Regions from separate parts of the Homo sapiens genome. Here all the other regions are linked to region 1. The links are contacts of gene promoters, found by promoter capture Hi-C in blood cells and fetal thymus (Javierre and others, 2016). All regions are on one chromosome and are shown on one strand. The core of a region is centred on a gene start or on the middle of the fragment in contact, and the rest is flanking DNA. Distances in the headings are between cores, read along the strand shown.

Region 1 (2,748 bases), core at 118-2,617:
CTTCCCTAGGGGGTTGTGAACCTGGGACACCTAGCCTTGCACGTGGTTTTGTTCCGCAGAGCCAATGCGCAGCTCTTAGCCTGGGTGAAATTTACCAAATTGTGGCAACAAAGAAACCCTTGCGGCTACTTTACACATTGAGAACCCAACCCGCTACTGCCTGAGCTGCTGAAAAAGGACTAAACGTGGTTTTTCATTCTTCTCCGAGACATTTCCGAGGAGAAATTAGTTCAGCAGGCAGCCCTTCACCCCTTTCCCCCTTCTTTCTCTCCTGACGGCTGGATTAGCGGACAGTCAGGGGAGTAACAGAACTTTTCCTGTCCCCAGCCCGGAGACCCTAGGGCTCCACAGAGTTTCCACTAGTGCTGTGTGTGGGTCTCGAATTGGAAAGCAGTGCTTGCGCCCACTGCATTGCCTCCCTGCACCAGGACAATCAAGGGTTCCGCTCCAGGCCTTGACGACACAGAGCAATCATCCTATGGAGAATATCCCTAAGTTAGAGCGCGAGTGCAAGGCGGGGTTCAGACTCGCAGCCCTGCGCTCTCGGGTCTAGGCGGCCTCATACTAGAGCGCAACTCCTCAAAAGACAAACTTGAACGAAAGCGCTACCGAGCTGGGGCATGCACCTGTCCCTGGCGCGGTCGGCTGCGGCTGTGGCCATTCACTCCCTCTCCCTTCCTTCTTCGTCAACCTGGGCGTCAGCCAGAGCTAGGAGCGCGTCTCAGGAAAGTTTGTGCCCGCTGAAGTTGCTCTGGTTTCTTAAAGGGGGCCCACAGATTGACTTTCAAAGTCCGTGGGCACCTCGCCCGTGATTCCGCAGAGCCGGGCGGGCTGGCCGCAGTAGCGGAGGCCCGCCCCCCTTAATCCCCAGCGGTCAGAGGCCGAGGACCCCGCGCAGGAAGTCCTGAGGCAGCACCCCCAACCACCCTGCTCTCACTTTCACAAAAGTCCTACAGCATTCGTTTGGCAAGAGCTTCCTTCAGGGGCATTGAGAGAGAGGAGGCACCCGCCGAGCAGTGACAAGGAACCTGGGAGTCCTGCCCGCATTCGCTTTGCTGAGCCCAGGCGCCCAGGACTGCAATTACCTTGTTCCGCAGAGGTCCTGGGGCTGAGCACGTCTCTGGGGCTTTAGCTGAAGGGGACTGGGGAAGCCGGAGGCCCTGGAGCCCACAGGCGCCCCTGGAGCTCTAGTGTCCCGACTCCTCTCCTGCCGCGGGGACTCCAAGCGCCGGACACGCGGGAGCGAGCGCTCAGCAGCCCCGGATCCTGCACGCCGGGGACGGTGAGCCTCGCTCGCGGCTCCCTCGCTGGGTCTGAACCAGGAGCAGCTGAGAACGTGCCGGGGAGAGGCCGAGCTCCGACTCACTCATCCCTTAGCACCGAGCCGCCTACTTATTTTAATCCACCACCCTCCCTCCTCCACCACCCCCACCCCCGCCCCTTGCCTCAGGATTCCTCCCCTCCCTCCCCTGCCCCCCAACCCTGCCCTGCGCCTGCGCAATGAAAGACAAAGTTTTTGCTGACCCGGGCAGCAGACTTTGGCAGCTGCTCTCGCTTGGACCCGGCCTCTCCCAACCTGCGTCCCCTCCTCTTCAGTCCCGCGCGACCCCTGCTGCCTTTTTAGGTCCAGAGCGGCACGCCTGGCGCACTGGAGGAAACGGTCCCTAGCAGATGAGAGCGGGCTGGCACCGCACGTTTCGAGGTCCTATACTTGGGCTCCTAGGACACAGCCCGTGCTCTTTGGGAGGAGGGAGGGAGGGGCAGTAGCTCTGTGCACCGGGATCCCCACACCGCGGCTTGGGTTTCAACGCACTTTGGCGCCTGACAGAGTCGCATCTCCTCCCAGAATCTCTTTCCAGAGGCGGCAGACCCCGAGTGTGGAGCAGCTCCTGGCTATCCAAGCGTGCTCGGGGCCAGGGTGTTAACCCAGGCAGCGCTGGTTAATTCCTGGTGCGGGAGGGCCAGGGTCACCGAAGCAAGCGAGCTGTAACATCTGAGTGCTTATGGTTGACCCCAGACCCTAAGTTCTGGAGTCCAGTAGAAAGAACAAAGAGTAGGGAAAGGAGGTCAGGAAAGTTATTTTCCTGGGGCCCAGAACTCTCTGAGATTTCACCCCAATGCACAGTGGCACTCTCTACTTACATATTTGTTTTAGGATGGATCAGAGTTTAGAGAGCCGCACTGGCAAGCTAGACGAGCTGCAAAGTTGTCAGTTCCAGGGCCTCTGAGTCAAGGAGCTGGTTCAGGTGGAGTTTTTAATCGGAAAGGAATCAGAGTTCTGGACATTAAAAATTCTATCTTCATTGCCTAGGCATTATGGAGGGTACCATCACCCCCTTGACTACCCATCTCTGAAAGCTGACCTCCGGCTGACCCCAGCCCAATCCCTCCCTAATGCCTTTCTGGAATACCCTTCCAGGCCTTGGGTTTGGCAAGGAGGAGTCACTGGTTTCCTGGGACTTGTGTGGGTCCAGATCACACAACTGCACTCTCTGCCTTTGCCCCAGAGTTGCTGCTGAGTGACTCTTGGAGCTGGATCCTAGATTCCGTGGGTCCCTAAGTACTGTACTGCTTCTCTCCCGAGGAGCTTCTGCTATCTCCAGCTTTGGTTTGCAAAGCTAATCTGATTTTCTTGGGAGGTGAAGAAGGTTGTAATACCTGACCTAGGGAGATGGTAATGAAGACTCCCCTCCCTCAAAGGCATAGTTGAAAGAGGATTTCCTTATATCCCCAGGCCTTTAGAACAGA
Region 2 (2,748 bases), core at 149-2,648, 620 kb before region 1:
GTGTAGACATGTTGGTGGTATACTTCATATTTTATCATGCCAAAAAATGTTTTAATTTTATTCTCATTCTTGAAAAAATAATTGCATTGGGCATAACATTCAGGGCATTGCATTGTCTTCTCATGTCCATATATACTAATGTGAAATGAGTCGTCTGTTTAATTGATATTTATGTGATGTGTTCGTGCTGTCTACTGGCTTTAAGGACTATTTTTCTTTGATGCTCATGGCTTCACTATAATATGTCTTTGTGTGAAGTTTATTTCATATTTATTCTTTTTCGAATTAATTGGGCTTCTTGGATCTGAGAACTGGTGTCCTTCGTGGGTCTGGATAATTGTCAAACATAATGTCATTAAATATTGGCTCATTTTCATTCTATTATCTCCTTCTAAAACTATAACTAAATAATTGTTGGCTTTCCCCACTCTCTGCTCTGGCTCTTAATTTCTTTTTCCTATTTTCTATCTCTTTGTCTTTCTGGGTCACATTTTTCACATTATCTTTTAAATCTATTTTCTAGGCCACTCAATGTTGTCTACTTTAATCTTCTATTTAACCTATCCAGTATGCTTTTAATTTCAACCGTTATAGCTCTTCATTTCTAATATTTTATTTGCTTCTTTAAAAAATATCCCTACAATTTAAAAATTACATTTATTTTTTGTTTATATTTTTATGCTTCTCTATTTCTTCAAAGTAAATAAAGTTGTATATTCTCTGGTCATGACAATATCTGATATATTCAGTAACCTGACTCTCCTGCATTTCATTCAAGGTGCCTTGTTTCTGTGTGTTTTTCTATTTTTCAGTGAGTTGCTCATTTTCCTTGGAACTTTATCTGTGGGAATTCTTTGAAACCTGGGTTGAATTACTATTCCTCTAGAAATGATTTGTGTTTGCTTCTGCCAGTTTCCTGGGGGGGCACTGCTGGCCTAGGACCACTTTAAATTAAATTGTCCATTTGAGATTTTTCAGACCTCACAGGTGGCATAAATTTGGATGGCAAACCTGTGAAGGGTCTGTGGAGGTTATAAAATCTCAGGATGAATTTTTCCCCTCCACTAGTGCCAATGCAGACTGTAAAGTTTCCCTGCTCTTCTATTCTTGGCAGTGGTTTATTTCTCATTCAACCTTCTACAAAGAGTATAGGCCAGTGGGATTTCAACTTCATGCATGGGTCTCCTGTTAGACTCCCCACCTGGGGCAAGCCTGGCCATTTTGCCCTGTCCCCTGAATGCTATGCAGTTTTTATGATGCAAAACTCTTTGTGTCTTGGACGTTGGAACACATTTGTCTTCCTTCTTCCTTTCCTTCAGATGCCTAGTTGCTGTGGTCTGAAGGTTTATGTTTCCTCCAAATTCATTTGTTGAAATCTCAACCCCCAAACTGATGGTGTGGTATAAGGAGGTGGAGCCTTTCGGGGGTGATTAGGTCATAAGGGTGGAGTCCTAATGAATGGGGTTAGTGCCTTTGGAAAGAAGCCCCAGAGAGATCCCTCACTCCTTCTTCCATGTGAGATTATAGTGAAAAGATGGCCATCTAGGAAGAAGGGCTTCACCAGACACCAAACTGACCAAATCCCTTGATCTCAGGCTTCCATCCTCTAGAACTGTGAGAAATACAATTCTGTTGTTTACATGTCAGCCAGTATATGGTATTTTGTTACAGAGGTTCGAACAGACTAAGATGCTTTGGAGACCCAAGGAGGCATTTGAGGAAGGTCTATTGTATGGTGAGAACACTTAGATACCTTCTACCTATTCCATGTCACCCCACACTGCTTTACATTTCTGGTCTAAGATTTTCATGGGAACATTACAAGGTGATGAAATCCATTTCAGTCTGTTCTCAACTAAATCGCAATTATCAGGAAAATAGGGGCAATGCCTTAAGTATAATATGTTTTGCCAACACCTCCCTGCACAGTTCATAGCTTGTTATTTCCACGTAGTACCTTTTTATTACATGTCCAAAAGGACATTTAAAATGATTAACATTTACACTAACATTATTACTCATCTATCTGTTAAGATGTGGAAATAAATAAACAGAAATATTGAATTTATCTAACAACTGGTTAGTACTAGCTTGATCGTTTCTGTATTTGGGTACCTACAAACTCCCTGCAGAGACATCAAATTCAGTTTCACAACTATGTTTCAGAATGTTATACTCACCAGAGTTAAACTTCCCTCTCTGATTTTCTATTCTCAGCCATCCACCCAAACCGTAGATGGAATCAAAACTAGATAATCAAGTGGAAGAGATTGAAGATGTGTGTTCTGAGAATGTTCCCAGAGCATTCCCTGTGGTTGAGATCCACAGATATCGTTCATAACCTCATCATGCTGGGAGGGTGGTGGAGGCCCTCCTCAGGGCAGAAATTGAAGCCCAGAAAAAGGGTTGTGGTCAGTTCCAGCACAATTCTTTATCATGCTGAGGTCAGGCCAGTCAGGTCCTCCATAAGTCATGGGTTAGGCATGCGCTTTGGACCCAGGCCGCCCTCCAGCTGTCTCAAGAAGCCCGCTGGCTGGGCCCTCTGTCACTTTTCTCCAGCAGGCAGTCCACCAGGCCCCTCCTGCGCTGCTCATTCTTCTGCAGCTTGATGTCAGGTCCCGATGGATGGCTTGAACCCTGTGTTGACCCACTATATATCCGAACTCCCCCTTCCTCTATCCTGACAACATTTTACCACCACCAAATTTCTCAGGGTGAGTGCCAAAATAATTCTAGATGTAAAGAAAC
Region 3 (2,748 bases), core at 160-2,659, 560 kb after region 1:
AGAACATTATTAGCTATGTAAAAGACATAAGAAATGATCCATTATGGATCACAACTGTTTATCTTTCAAATTAATAATAAATGAAAACAGACGCATATCAAGAAAAAATCACTCCCTCAACAATACTTGTGTAAATAAACGGTCCAACTTAGTGACAATGTTTCAACAGAAGCTATAACTACAAAATGGATATTTCTGTTTAAGTTATCTTCATTATAAATAGAGGCAAGTTTTCTGCACAATCATATGAAAGTGTAAATTCCAAATGCCATCTCTTAAATGAGACTAAAAGGACAGGTTTTAAAATAGAAGAATAGGGCTATTAGAAACAATTCAGATTGTAAAAAATGTCTTAAAATGCCATCGCCTCACTTCTGAAAATACAATAAAGAAGACATTCGACACTTATTTAATTAAATATGGCTATAGAGAAAGCTCATTTCATTATTACAATTGTTTAACTTCCTTGTAACATGGGTTATAAAAATTCTCTAAATTCAACTTTGCCCCACTCCCATGCTTCCCCCACTCCCTACTCCCTTCAAGATTTTTTAATGAATTCAGTTACCTTGACACTGTGAGAAAAAAATTTATTTGGAATATTTCCATGGTATCATGTAACCAAAAACAAGATAAACAAAAGAGAGAGGGTGAGAGAAAACATGGTTGATTTTCATACATTTATATGAAAATCGGCCTTATTATTTCACAGTTGTATTGCCATAAAAATTATTTTATTAACATATATTTTGTGCAAAAATTCAACTATAAATAATGAGGCTGATTTTCATACAAAACTCACAGAAATAAACCTTATTACATATACAGCATATAGCCATGTATATATGCTACATATATTTTACAGTTATATACAGTTTATCATTCCTTTATCCCACTGGACTATGGCATAAGGGGCAGAAGCTGTAGTGGCTTATTTCCTGAGCAAGGACACCGTGTTTGCATACACTGCACATCCAGAATTGATACTCAGTGATTGGGCTTCCTGTGGCAACGCATGTTGGCAGTTTCCCTTCTCCACTGTAAAACGGGGAGAAACAATTCATTATACTTTAAAACTTCTCATTAGTCTAACTTTATTTAATACACTTAAAAAAAACCTAAAGAATAAAACTTCTGAGATGAACATCAAATACTTTCATTTAAAAAAGTTATTTCAAGAAAAAACCTTTCTTACAATGACAAAATAAAGCATGAATACACTTGTAAAAATAAATAAAATAGGGTATAATGTTAATGTGAATTGCTTCAAAATTCAGTGCTTTAATTCCTACATTAAACATTGTACATCTAGAAATCCAAGCTTCTAATAAGATAGAATGGCATCCACTAATTAAAATTAGCCTACCCTTCCATAAGGCTGTCCAATTCAGGTTTTCTGTTATCTTTTGAAGTATGTTTGGTGAAGATTTCTAAAGCAAGGTCTTCATACTGCTGTTTCTGTTCTGAACTGAGGGTCTCTAAAGATTTAAGTTTAATGAAAGCTTTTGAACAAGTCCCAAAGGCTCTGCTGGCGCATGCGCAGAGTGCTAGCAGAGAGTAGATCTCCACAGGAGGGATGATGTCTTCATAGTCTTTCAGGTGAAGAGCTAAGAAAAACAGGGCAATTGGGGTTTTTTAAAATAATTATTATGATATCATGAACATGCAAAAGAAGAATCTAAGTTAAGGTGATTTCATTGAACTTGCATGAACGAACTGAAAGCAAACAGTGTTGAGAGATGGGAGCACCAAGAGGAGGAACTAGGCTACATGATATCCAAGGTTCTGTGAAGCTGGCTAACAGCTCATCCTATGAAAAGAACCACCACCAAATGCTGCACATGGCTGTGCCAGCTCAGAAATACACACACACACACAAAATTTTGGTGTCAAAACATCCACATTTTCTTCAATTTATGTTAGAAATTTCTGTGGCACTTCATAAAAAGCAAATGAGTATTATACTATGTTAGTCATAAACTGCAAGATAATACCATGTTTCCTTTTGTTAAAAAAAAAGCAAAACAATATAAGCAAAACAGTATAAAATAATATGTTCTTTTCTCTGTGTTTCTTTGGACAGATTATTGCTTTTGTATTACTGCTTTTGTCATTTGTCTCACTGAAACAATAGGATTTTGTGAAAAAGTGAAAATGAGTCTCCAAGTTGTCAGTTGAGACAATTCAAGTTACAACATCTTATTTGCAATTATACTGGAGATGAAAAAATCTTTCTTTAAAATGCACTGTATTCTTGGGCCTGTTGGGGGTGGGGGGCTAGGGGAGGGATAGCATTAGGAGAAATACCTAATGTAGATGACGGTTGATGGGTGCAGCAAACCACCATGGCACATGTATACCTATGTAACAAGCCTGCACGTTCTGTACATGTACCCCAGAACTTAAAGTATAATAAAAAAAGCAGACTTAATATTAGATTTAATATTAAGATTTAATATTAGATTTATAACCAATTTGTATCTTTTTCTTCTCTAGACCTTGGAATCTTAAAAATACTTTGTTATAGTATATCAAAAACTTCATAAAACCAGTTTAAACAATATATTCATGTGTTTTACAATCAGAATCCTATAAACTGGTTCTGGGGTCAAGTATTTACAACAAAGTGTAGTAGAAAAAATGTATATAAAATGTAATCACTCAGTTACAATAAACAATATCCTCTAATTTCATATCCAAAGCATGATAGGTTCAAGGGTAATAATTTACAGGTCATACATTGTTTCA
Region 4 (2,748 bases), core at 84-2,583, 540 kb after region 1:
TCAAGATGAGATTTTGGGTGGGGACACAGCCAAACCATACCAAGGGTTTTTTGTTGTTTCTTCAGTAGTAGGGCCAAAATGTTTTTTGAAGTTAAGCACGATTCTTATAAGAATATAGAATGAAAATGTGAAAAATGTTTAACTCATTAATAGAGAACCGCCAGAGTGGTAAAAGAGCATTAGAATAACTGAGTACTTATGGTCCATGAAGAAAGAATTTGGGAATAAAGTTGCTAGGTTAAATACAAAACTGGTTAACGTTCTTCAGGGCAATACAGCCAAAACTTTTGGGGTTATCTTTTCTACCAGAGTTCATTTGCATCTCCTCTGGACAAAAATCTGCAAGTTACATGCAACCTCCCAGAGTCTGGGCCCTAATCAAGAGTAAATAGAAAATCAAAGAAAGGCACACACATGGCTCCCCAAAAGAATTAAACAGTCGTTGAGTGGGTCTGCTGGTATGATATTGAAATGCCATGCAAATCCTTTTGCCTTATTTCTACGTATTGGATGCTTTTTTTGACATAAGATAAAAATTTACATATTGGCAGCTGTAGCTATCTAGTTTCCAAATGGAGTTTGCTCTTAAAATTAATCTGCTTTTCACCATCTTTTGTGTCTGTTTTTAATAAGAAAAATGACCACCAAGCAATGTGGGCATTGCAATAACATTCCATTATTTAAAAACATACTTTAATATTATTCTGATACTCACTTTGCTGGGTACTAAAACATTTTATGAGCAATTTAAATTTTTTATCAGGACCAAAAAAAAAAAAAAAAGTCCACATATCTGCTGTGAGTTGATGCCAACAGCAAAAACATTGATACTCATTGCAGTTTCAAATATTTATATGGATTTTGGACACAACCTTGCACAAGTTACTCAATTTCTTAGCTTCATCCTCTATGCAGAATAAGACCTTCACTAAACTGCTATATTTATGATTTTGTGATGACACATATAAACCTGGGATTACACTGTTGTGTTCCTATTTTACTTTTATATCCACATTCATAATTTCAGTTTCGGGGCTTCCTTACAGGTTGCTTGTTTTATAATTTGTCTTGCTACATGACGTGTTCTTTTACCTTCTTGTGATTTTAAAAAGGATAAACTATGTGTTTTAATTGTATCAATTGCTTTGTTTTTTCAAAAACAGAAATTAGACTATACTCATCCTTCTTTCCTTTCTGTAGAGTGAAATGGTGTCATTTGAAGTCCCTTAACATTAGATTTGAAATTTAACAAATCTCACTCTCCCTCTTTTACCAACTGCCATTTTAAATTATGGGCATTCTGTTCTCACAATTTACTGTCACATTTTTTAGAAACACAGAAAACACCAAAATGTGAATTTATATAGAAATTGTTAAAATTACACACCTAGCGTAAATAGCAAATATTCAGTCAACTTTTCACTATGCTCTTGAAAAGCTATTACACATTTGTCAACAATTTGTTTAGCGTAGCAATATGTTAACCTAAACACACTAAATTCAGCATCCATTTCAGGCAGAGATGAGCCGTCTGATTTACTCAACACATTTCTAGTTAGAGAGCATCACATGAGACAAAGTGGAATCGTGCCACATATTTGAATGAAGCCAGAAGCAGCACTTTTTAGGACTCTTAGATCTGTTTTGTGCATGAGCTGTTGTTTTTGAAACACTCTCATGTTTAGTCATTAATTTGCATAAAATTTTTTCTGTGTTGTAACTTTAAGTGCAGTTTGCATGCAAGACCAGTATACCCAAAAACCTTGAAAAAATGGTGCAGCAACTCTGAATATACCTTCAAACCATTGAACTGTACACTTTAAATGGGTAAACTATATGATATATGAATTATTCTCAATAAAACAAAAAACTAGCACAGTAAACATTCATGCTCAGCCTAGACAATGTGGTGAAACCCTATCTCTACAAAATATACAAAAATTAGCTGGGCATGATGGCGCATGCCTATAGTCCAAGCTACTTAGGAGGCTGAGGTGGGAGGATCACCTGAGCCCAGGGAGGTCAAGGCTGCAGTGAGCTGTCATCAAGCTACTGCAATCCAGCCTGGGCAACAGAGTGAGACCCTGTCTCAAAAAAGAAAAAAAAAAAACATGCTATTACGGTTTATATACAAACTGTTTACTTCTGAGTTAAATTTTTAAGGGGGCTAGACTTAGCAGAAAGGGAGACATTGAGACAAGAATCAGTGTAAACGCTGAGTGGTAGGTGGGGTTGAAATATATCATGCCCACGGAGAAAGATTTAAGACCTACAAAATGACAGGGAGCCAAGGCTACATTTAGGATTCAGAGGGTAGAGAAGCCAGTGAAAAACAGAAAACCAAAAAAGACAGAGCAAAAGAGCAAATGACAGAGCAAAAGAGCAAATAGATAATGACTAAAGACTAACTTGGATATTTGCTTTGCTATCATAAAGTAAAGGGTTTTATTCAGTTCCAAATTTCAGAAAAAAACAAATAGCTCCACACTTTTCAACTACTGTTAGGAGTAATATTCTAAACTCAAAAGTAACTTAAATCCATTTTATCCTATCTTACCTCACTTTGTGAAAGAGAAACCTTATAACAAACCACAATTCTTTTGTTTTTACAAAGGAAAAAATTAGAAAACATAAGTTACTTTTCTAGTAGAAAAAGGAAATAACGAATACTGAAATGTGGGAAATATGAACGGTAATGAATATATTTTAAGGTAAATATCCAAGGTATTATTTGGTCAATCAGAAACT
Region 5 (2,748 bases), core at 176-2,675, 520 kb after region 1:
GCTACTCAGGAGGCTGAGGCAGGAGAATCACTTGAACCCGGGAGGCAGAGCTTGCAGTGAGCCAAGATCATGCCACTGCACTCCAGCCTGGGCAACAGAGCAAGACTCCGTCTCCAAGAAAAAAAGAAAAAAAAAAACTATTATTCAGACTCTAATGTGATTGAATAACTTTCGGTCCTGAGGAGAGACAACAGTAGTAAGGATTCTTTTGACCTCCATGAGCCTATAATCTACACAAAGAAGATTGTGGTTAGCCCTCACATGCGAGCTTATTTTTTTGTGTTCAGCCGCTACTTAAGCCAACATACAAAGGGACAAAGCTGGATAAATTGCACTCTTACCTGGGATGGTGAGGCTAGTATGTTAGTGGTTATTTGCATAAGGAATGGCTGGCAATTTTTGACTGATGCTGCTGGGTTGCCCTCGGGTTTATGAATGGGCTTATGTTCTCAAAATGGCCCTCGCTGATCACATCCTTCCTGTGGTTCCTCACTCGGCCTTGTTCCTGAGTTACTGGCTAAAGAAGGATTGACTCTAAGAGACAAGAGCATCTTTGGGGGGAAAGGGGAGAAGATTATCAAAGGACACAGACACCCCTAGTCCTTTCTAGTCCCCTCACAGGAAAGAGAAAACAGGATGCTCTTAGCTCTGAGGACTTAATTAAGGGAGACTGGGAGAGTCTGTTGCCGGTAAACCACAGGCTGTAATAGATGAGAACTTCCAACAGACACGGTCCCTGGGACAAGACTCTTCAACATCACCTTTGGAGCTGTCTTCCCTGGTGACCAGTTGGTGGCAATGGGGATCAGAACTGTGCCCTATCCTATTTCAGAAGTGGATGAACCTGGGTATAAGGTTTGGGAAATTTCCCTCCCAGATGGAACACAAAGGTTTGTGCTTGAAGTGTCCTTGATGACACAGAAGTGATTAAAGAGGTCAGCCAGTGCTCATGTCCAGGTAAGAAGCTGTCAGTTTGGACAGATCCTCTGCCCAGCAGATAGCTTACCAGATAGTGTTACCTGCTGGGCAGGTAACATACTTCATAGGCAGAGCTCTCACCCACCCCACCCTCACAGGTCATTAAATTACATGAGCACGTCTTGTCTAATCTAGCTTGGCAGGCTGGAGCAGTTTGAAACACTGTAATGGAGAGACCAGTAGCCACTCGAGTACGTGACAGAGTGGACATCCTCATTGGATTGAGGTCTCAAGCCCCCCATCAGGTGGTGGGCACACAAGGACAGGGCCTACTCTGCTATGCTGTCCAGCCTGAGCAGATGCTGTAAGGGGGCAGGAGGCTGTCCTAGGGTCACTACCCAGAAGTGGCTTCGTAAATTCAGGCAGCCTTTTGCTCAGCATGGCTCTAAGCTATGGTCAACCTGAAATAATTGAAAGGATCAGAATCCAGTTTTAAAGAGTTTATTCAAGCAAAAAGCTGGGAATGACCATACAGGAAACAGACTTCAGAGAAATGGAATAAGTGCTCCGAAGTTAAAAGTTAAGGTCTTGCTTATATAGGCAGAAAATAAAGAAATTCAGTAGGATTTTATCATTTTCTATACAAGGCTGTTTTATGAGTTACAATTTAGTTTGTTTTCTTTTCCATAAAGTTTGTTTTCTTTACAGCTTGTTTTCATTTCCTTTCCAATTTAAGAGTAGTTAACATTCCATCTTAGACAATCCCATAGCCATGAAGACTTTGTGTGGAAGAGGAAAGAGGGAAGTTAATCTATACTGAATATCAACAGTTAAGAGGGAAGGGGTCTTCCCTGGCACCCTTTAGTCATTTACAACATTTTACAAAACATGTAGGTAAGAAAAATGACCAATCTGTAATCAGAAACAAAGGTTACAGCTGCATGTTTATGTGACTCAGGTCCTATAATCACATTCCCTTAAGGCTCAAAATGTTTTGAGGTTCTAACAGCTTAGATTTTGAATTACTTTACTCTATCCATCACTTGCAGACTGTTCCTGTGATGTCTTCTAGTACATGAACAGGAATGAAACCCACTATGTCCTCCATGTGAACTACATGCTGAGCGTGGGTCCAGATGGGAAACCATTCTCCTACCCTGCAGAAATGGTATATAGTTTCAAGGATGTGGGTAAGTACACCAAGTGAGGTGCTGGTCCTGGACTCATGGATGGTCTTGGTACCCAACAAGTTACACTGGCTCTGTCCAAACAACAGCTGTGGAAGCCCCTCCCATGGGAGGGGGGTCCCACTGGGGCTACACAGAAGTAACTCCTCACAAGTGGCTTGTCTGCATCCTGGGATTGGAAACCCAGTATAGAAGCAGCTGTTGGCAGACTCATGAAGTAATACAGAGAATGGGTGGCTGCTCATACAATCAGCAGTAAGACTTCACTTAAATCATGCCAGGAATGACATGAACAGGACTCAACGTACCCCATACAGTCTTCCCTCCCAGGTGCCACCACCCCTGAAATATTAACCTTGGTAGACTTCTCCTGTCAAGGTCACAGTAAGGGTAGCCAGTGGTATCAAGACCTTGGTATAAATCAGACATGGCCTTCTTCCCAGCAAGGTCATTAGGTACCCAATGTAGAGATAGCAGGGAAAGGATATAAAAACAGGAAAGTTCCAGGTGAGTCATCTTTTGCCCCTTGACTAGGCCTGCCTATAGGTTTGACAGCTCCAGGAAGTAAGAAAACAGGTATATTGTCTTCCTTCCTATAGCTCTGCTAGGTGTCATCCTCTTAAGGTCACTAGGATTCTAGTGT

The links. Contacts are between HindIII fragments. The CHiCAGO score rates a contact against its expected background, and 5 or more counts as called.
Region 2: a fragment that was not itself captured here is called in contact with the fragment with the promoter of OSR1 in region 1 in 2 of 17 cell types (endothelial precursors and M2 macrophages); the score reaches 7.7 in endothelial precursors.
Region 3: a contact is called between a fragment that was not itself captured here and the fragment with the promoter of OSR1 in region 1, in 8 of 17 cell types (total CD8 T cells, naive CD8 T cells, activated CD4 T cells and 5 more). The highest score is 10.3, in total CD8 T cells.
Region 4: a fragment that was not itself captured here is called in contact with the fragment with the promoter of OSR1 in region 1 in 9 of 17 cell types (total CD8 T cells, total CD4 T cells, neutrophils and 6 more); the score reaches 8.5 in total CD8 T cells.
Region 5: a fragment that was not itself captured here is called in contact with the fragment with the promoter of OSR1 in region 1 in 4 of 17 cell types (naive CD8 T cells, total CD8 T cells, M1 macrophages and 1 more); the score reaches 6.8 in naive CD8 T cells.

Annotation. Positions count from the first base shown.
Region 1 is chr2:19,357,256-19,360,003 of GRCh38, forward strand. OSR1 (odd-skipped related transcription factor 1) reads right to left here and starts at 1,368. Exons shown (of 3, transcript NM_145260.3): 1 at 1,086-1,368. RefSeq lists enhancers at 1-46, 712-1,240. The HindIII fragment of the contact is 8,359 bases long and covers 1-2,748 here.
Region 2 is chr2:18,738,193-18,740,940 of GRCh38, forward strand. The region is part of intron 4 of LOC105373456 (a long non-coding RNA gene); the gene reads left to right. Among named protein-coding and RNA genes, the nearest start is that of NT5C1B-RDH14, 150 kb to the left of the region's middle. The HindIII fragment of the contact is 3,221 bases long and covers 1-2,748 here.
Region 3 is chr2:19,912,671-19,915,418 of GRCh38, forward strand. It overlaps WDR35 (WD repeat domain 35), which reads right to left. Exons shown (of 27, transcript NM_020779.4): 26 at 1,367-1,607; 27 at 1-1,038. The coding sequence ends at 888. Among named protein-coding and RNA genes, the nearest start is that of TTC32, 12 kb to the left of the region's middle. The HindIII fragment of the contact is 181 bases long and covers 1,320-1,500 here.
Region 4 is chr2:19,892,294-19,895,041 of GRCh38, forward strand. No RefSeq gene overlaps it. Among named protein-coding and RNA genes, the nearest start is that of TTC32, 8.3 kb to the right of the region's middle. The HindIII fragment of the contact is 3,471 bases long and covers 1-2,748 here.
Region 5 is chr2:19,873,836-19,876,583 of GRCh38, forward strand. It overlaps LINC00954 (long intergenic non-protein coding RNA 954), which reads left to right. Exons shown (of 10, transcript NR_033875.1): 6 at 1,968-2,108. Among named protein-coding and RNA genes, the nearest start is that of LINC00954, 6.4 kb to the left of the region's middle. The HindIII fragment of the contact is 3,355 bases long and covers 1-2,748 here.